2 separate regions of the Homo sapiens genome follow, and region 2 is linked to region 1. The links are contacts of gene promoters, found by promoter capture Hi-C in human tissues and cell types (Jung and others, 2019). All regions are on one chromosome and are shown on one strand. Each heading gives the region's core, a stretch centred on a gene start or on the middle of the fragment in contact. The rest is flanking DNA. Distances are from core to core; before and after follow the strand shown. Region 1 holds the start of TCF25 (TCF25 ribosome quality control complex subunit). Region 2 overlaps ANKRD11 (ankyrin repeat domain containing 11).

Evidence for each region. The method cuts DNA at HindIII sites, captures the fragments that hold promoters and counts their contacts. A contact is called where the count stands out against the background at its distance.
Region 2: a fragment that was not itself captured here is called in contact with the fragment with the promoter of TCF25 in region 1 in 1 of the 25 tissues and cell types used here (dorsolateral prefrontal cortex).

The regions. Positions count from the first base shown.
Region 1 is chr16:89,872,270-89,874,914 of GRCh38, reverse strand. It overlaps TCF25 (TCF25 ribosome quality control complex subunit), which reads right to left and starts at 1,323. Exons shown (of 18, transcript NM_014972.3): 1 at 1,056-1,323. The coding sequence starts at 1,247. It overlaps LOC112268179 (a long non-coding RNA gene), which reads left to right and starts at 1,427. Exons shown (of 2, transcript XR_002957933.2): 1 at 1,427-1,947. RefSeq lists silencers at 539-1,008, 1,479-1,598 and enhancers at 1,679-1,838, 1,609-2,565. The HindIII fragment of the contact is 23,130 bases long and covers 1-2,645 here.
Region 2 is chr16:89,296,855-89,299,499 of GRCh38, reverse strand. All of the region lies in intron 4 of ANKRD11 (ankyrin repeat domain containing 11), which reads left to right. LOC124903757 (keratin-associated protein 5-2-like) reads right to left here. Exons shown (of 2, transcript XM_047435030.1): 2 at 1-2,309. The coding sequence starts at 68. It overlaps LOC105371414 (a long non-coding RNA gene), which reads right to left. Exons shown (of 3, transcript NR_136339.1): 2 at 1,538-2,309; 3 at 1,183-1,349. Among named protein-coding and RNA genes, the nearest start is that of ZNF778, 80 kb to the right of the region's middle. The HindIII fragment of the contact is 5,021 bases long and covers 1-2,645 here.

The DNA of each region.
Region 1 (2,645 bases), core at 74-2,573:
CAACCAAGCATGGTGACTCACGCCTGTAGTCCCAGCACTTTGTGAGGCTGAGGTGGACAGATTGTTTGAGCGCAGAAGTTCTAGACCAGCCTGGGCAACAAGGCGAAAACTCTTCTCTACAAAAAAGAAAAAAAAAAAAAATTAGCCGGGCGTGGTGACATCCACCTGTAGTCCTAGATACTCAGGAGGCTGAGGTGGGAGGATCGCAGAGCCCGCAGAGGCAGAGTTACAGACGGAGGCCAGGGCTTAGGAGAAAACGTCACAGGACCGCATGAGCAAACCATACAGTCAAACTGTTACTTCCCTGTGCCAGAAACGAGCTGCCGGAGATGCAGCAAAGAGTAAGACTAATCCGCTGGGTTAGGCTGATGGGGATGCGCGAAGAGCAAGGCCCTGGGTTAGGCAGAGTTGTTGTGAGGATTAAAGCAGAATGCTCGCAGAGGCCTGGCAAGTCCTCAACCCTGGAACCGAGAGAAGGCCCCTCTAGACTCGAGAAAGGGAAGCCCCACCCGACTCCTGCCCCTACGCCGTGGCCCCACCCCCACGGTGGCCCCAGGCCTCATTTAACCCCGCCCACGCCATCGCCTCGCCACCCCCCCGTCTTTAGCCACGCCCTTTAGCGTCACGGCCCCACGACAGCCACGTGGCCGCAGGCCCATTTAATCCCGCCCACGTCGTGGCCCGGCCCCGCGGACGTTGGCCACGCCCTTGGCATCAAGGCCCCGCACCCTCCACAACCCGGACCCCGCTTAACCCCGCCCATTCGGTCGCCCCGCCCCGACAGCACGGCCCCGCCCCATCCCTTAGCCCCGCCCACCTCACCGGGGTTAGAACCCAGTCTAACTCCGCGGCCCGCCGTCTTCACCCCACGCCACCGCCCACCCGCGTCGCCCTGGCCCCGACGCACGGCCCCGCCCTCCCCACTGCGGCTGGGACCCACGTCACCCTTCCCACCCCTGGCATCACAACCCCGCTCCCCGACCCGGCTGGACGCTCGCCCCGCCCCACAACGTCAAGGGCCACCCCACCCCCACCCGGGCCGCCGCGCTCCTCACCAGCTCGAAGCGGTTGTTGACTCGGACGCCCTCCTTCCCTGCGCCCCCGGGACGCCGGACACCAAGCTCCCGCTTGGGCCCTTCTTCTTCCGCGTCATCGTCATCACGGAGATCGAAATGCAAGGCGCCGGGCCCGAGGGGCTCCTGGCCGCGCTGTTCCCCCCTCAGCCTCCGGAGGGCCCGGCGCGACATAGGACCGAACGACCACGACGTCTGGAGAGAGGGAGAAGGAAGCGCAGAAAACTCGGCTGTCGGCGCGCCTGCGCACTCTTCGCGCGGGGTCGGGGGCGGGGGAGCTGGCTGCGCGCCTGCGCACTCTTGGCGCGAGGGGTGGGGGCAGGACCTGGCTGCGGCGCCTGCGCGTCGCGGCTCTCCGGAACTTTCCCGCTTCAGCGGCGGCGTCTGGGCGGGCTCCGGGGGGTCCGGGCCAGGTCTCTGGAGAGCTGGGTGTCTGCGCGCCGTGCGCACCGGGCATGGAGAGGTGCCCCGCGGGGATGACGGGCTTCGATTCGGGGTAACGGGCGCGCAGCCGGCGACAGTCGGCCCTGCCCGGCCTTGCCCATCCATGTGGCCCGGAACCCGCAGCCGCGTTCTGCCCGCCGGGGCCTGTCCCCGCACCGTGCCTGCAGCATTTCAGCTGCGTCCCGGACGTTGCTAGTTGGTCCTTTTCGTGTCAGGGTGTCATTCGAGTGATCTAGCCGTCGATGCCCGCCTCTGCCCTGGAGCCGCCGCCCCTCGAGCAGCATTGAGTGACGCGGCCCTTACTGCCCGCCCGAGGCCTCTTTAGGGACAGTGGTTCTGACAGTTCTAGGACAGGCCGCCCGCGTTTGTCACGATCTAAGGGCCGGGCGCGGTGCTCACGCTTGTAATCCCAGCACTTTGGGAGGCCAAGGTGGGCGAATCACCTGAGGTCGGGAATTCGAGACCAGGTTGGGCAACACGGTGAAACTCCCTCTACTAAAAATACAAAAATTAGCTGGGCGTGGCTGCGCACGCCTGTAATCCCAGCTACTCGGGAGGCTGAGGCTGCAGTGAGCCGAGATCGCGCCACTGCACTCCAGCCTGGGCGACAGAGCCAGACCCTGTCTCAAAAAAATGAAAAAAATAAAGTAGATGAGGCTGAGACAGTGCTGGGTTCAGTGGGCGGAGGGCACAGCTTCCTGTGCCTGGGGTTGGGGACATGGGGACAGGAGGGCATAGAGAAGACAGGTGCCAGCAGCCTCCTGCCCGACTTACTGCGGCTTCATGAGCACAAGCAGCAGCCCTGGTGAGCCGGCCTGGCCCCTCCCAGGATGGGTTAGGGTTTTATTTTATTTTGTGAGATGAGGTCTTGCTCTGTTGCCCAGGCTGGAGTGCAGTGGCGCAATCTCGGCTCACTGCAACCTCCATCTCCCAGGCTCAAGCACTTCTCCTGTCTCAGCCTCCCGAGTAGCTGGGACTACAGGCATGTGCCACCATGCCCGGCTAATTTTTGTACTCAGTAGAGATGGGGTTTCACCATGTTGGCCAGGCTGGTCTCGAACTCCTGACCTCAAGTGATCTGCCCACCTCACCCTCCAAAAGTGCTGGGATTACAGGTGTGAGCCACTG
Region 2 (2,645 bases), core at 74-2,573, 580 kb after region 1:
CACAGGGCACAGACCCCACACACCCCACACAGGGCAGGCACCTCACACAGGGCACAGACCCCATGCATCCCACACAGGGCAGGCACCCCACACAGGGCACAGACCCCACACACCCCACACAGGGCAGGCACCCCACACAGGGCACAGACCCCACGCACCCCACACAGGGCAGGGATCCCACGCAGGGCACAGATCCCACGCAGGGCAGGGCCAGCCCAAGGCCAGGCCCCTCCCCTGTAGATCTCCTCCCAGGCAGGACCAGAGCCACAGTCACTTCCACACTATCTCCTTCCCTAGAAACCTCTGCAGACTCTTCCTCCTCTCCTCGATACACAGGGGCCCCTGCCACAGCCTGACTCTCTGCCACCTCGTGAGTCTCTGGAAAGCAGGGTCGGCCTCTGAATACAGAGGACTTGGGTCCTGCCGGAGGATGCTTGGCCAGTGGGTGCTGGCACGTGAGCAGCCCCCGGGGAGTCAGAGTGGGGCTGCAGCGAAGGCCGTGGTGGTCGAGGTGAGGGTGGTGGCCAGGTCTTGTTGCCGCAGTGAGGATTCTGGGGTTACCCTAAGAGCCACCACATTCAGGCACTCAAGAAAAAGCACGTCAAAATAAAATATTTTCACATGATTAAGAACTCCGCGTGATTGGTCTCTGGTCCTCCTATTTCTCAACCATTTTTCCTCTCTAGACGTAAGCAGTTTCTCATACAAAGGGAAGCTTGGACTAGCAAAGGGAAGGTTCTTGCTGTTTAAAATTCTGTAATCCCCAAGCCGCAGCAAAGGCTTCCCTGACACCCCTCAGAAGTGCACTTAGGCCGGTAGCCAGGCCCATGTTGTCAACACAACACAGACAAGCTGGGGTCCACAAGACCACCCGAGGCTCAGCGATTTGATGGAGGACCCCGGGACTCAGGATAAAGGTGGTGGCTGCCGTGGGAGCAGTCAGCCAAGTGAGGGGGGCGGGCAGGGGCCGTCTGCTACCTCCTGGCTCCATGCTGTGGGACTTTGGGCCCATTTCTCAGCCTGTCTGTGCCTCTCAGCCCTTTCATCCATAAAGCTCTGCTGTGTGAGGAGCTGTGGCCCCTCGACAGAGGGGTCCCCCCAGCCCTGTGCTCTCACCGCCCATGCATTCGGCCAGGCAGGCCTGTGCCCTGCAGGAGTGACGGACACAGCTCAGGCCTCAGCGCAGGTTTGGACGTTGATCTTGTTTATTTTAAAATACCCACGATGCTGTGTGTGTGGAAAGGAGGCCCAGGGTGGGAAACCGTTCTGTTTGGTTGTCATCTGAGCCCTTTTGCCGACATTGCTTCCTTCCTTCCTGGCTTCTTGTTCACCATGGTGACCGCTGGATGCTGGTGAAACCACCATGGGGCTCAGGCCCTGCTCCTTCCCACCCTTGCCACATAACCCTGTTTGCCTCCACAGGCTTCCTGTGGAACTGGTCCTTCCGCCCCACCCCACCCTACCCCTACCCCACCCCGGCCTGGAGATGGGGAAGGCATGGAGGTTGTGCAGGCAAGGGCTGGACGCACAGCCTTACCTCTGTGTGACCCCTTCACATACACTGCGGAAGAAGCCAAAGCTGAAAGGCGTAAGAGATGACCCAGCTCCCATCGGCAGGCGGGAGGGCTGAGGTCACGCAGCAGACAGGGGTAGGCCCTGTCTTTCTTTAAGTGATCAATGACGGTAACTGACAGAAAGAAGGCAGAAAGAGAGAGAAACCTGGAGATTGGAAGGAGAAGCCAGTCTCACCACAAGATGGCTCACAGTGCTCAGCGGGCGCCCGCCAGCTTCTCTTGTTGGCCCAGGACAGGCTGTTCGGAGCTTGTCTTGCTGCCCCAAGGAGGATGTCAGTGGGAATATGGTTGCGCCCTCGTTTGGAGTTGTGCGAGCGTTGAGCTCAGTGCCCGGGTAGGAACTTGGCGTTGTGGACCATCCGCCTCGTGTAGATCGGCTGTGATTTAGACTTCTTGGCCAGAAGTGCTGTATTTCATGGCTTTGAACATCCGGATGAGGCCAGATGTTTGGTGTGGACAGCATGGTTTTTAGTCAAATGGAAGAGAATCTGTGAGCAGCAGCCGTGCTACAAAGCTGCACCCGGCCCTGCCCATCAGTTCCATGAGCTGTAACCGCCATCGGCCGTGAACTTTCTGTTGTTTGAAAATATCGCCATGGAAACATCCCTTTGTGGAGCAGAATCAAGAATGTATTTTGACGTCTTCGAGTTTTACGGTGGGACGCAGGAGTTGCACATTTTCCTATGTTGACAGTATCGTGGCCTGTGTCTCCTAAAAGACTCTTGCTAGAAAAGCCTAGAAATTAGAGGTGCTAAATGATTGATACAAAAGGCATTTGTTCAGATGAGCAGCTGAGGCCACACACCTCCACGTCCCTGGGGCCCAACCTCAGGGTCTCTGCCTTGGAGCCCAGCTTCAGACCTCCCAGGGAGGTAGAGGAAGGGGCTTTGGGCCCAGACCCCACGGAAAGCTTGTCCCCTCGAGAGGGCCACACTTCCTGGACACTGGGCTATCAGGGTAGACACTGTCCCCCCAGCTAAGAGGGACAGGTGCTGAGGAGGGATGAGGGGCTTTGAGAGGTCACCAATGAGACTTCTGACCCATTCCTGCCCTCTGGTGGGGCTGGCATTT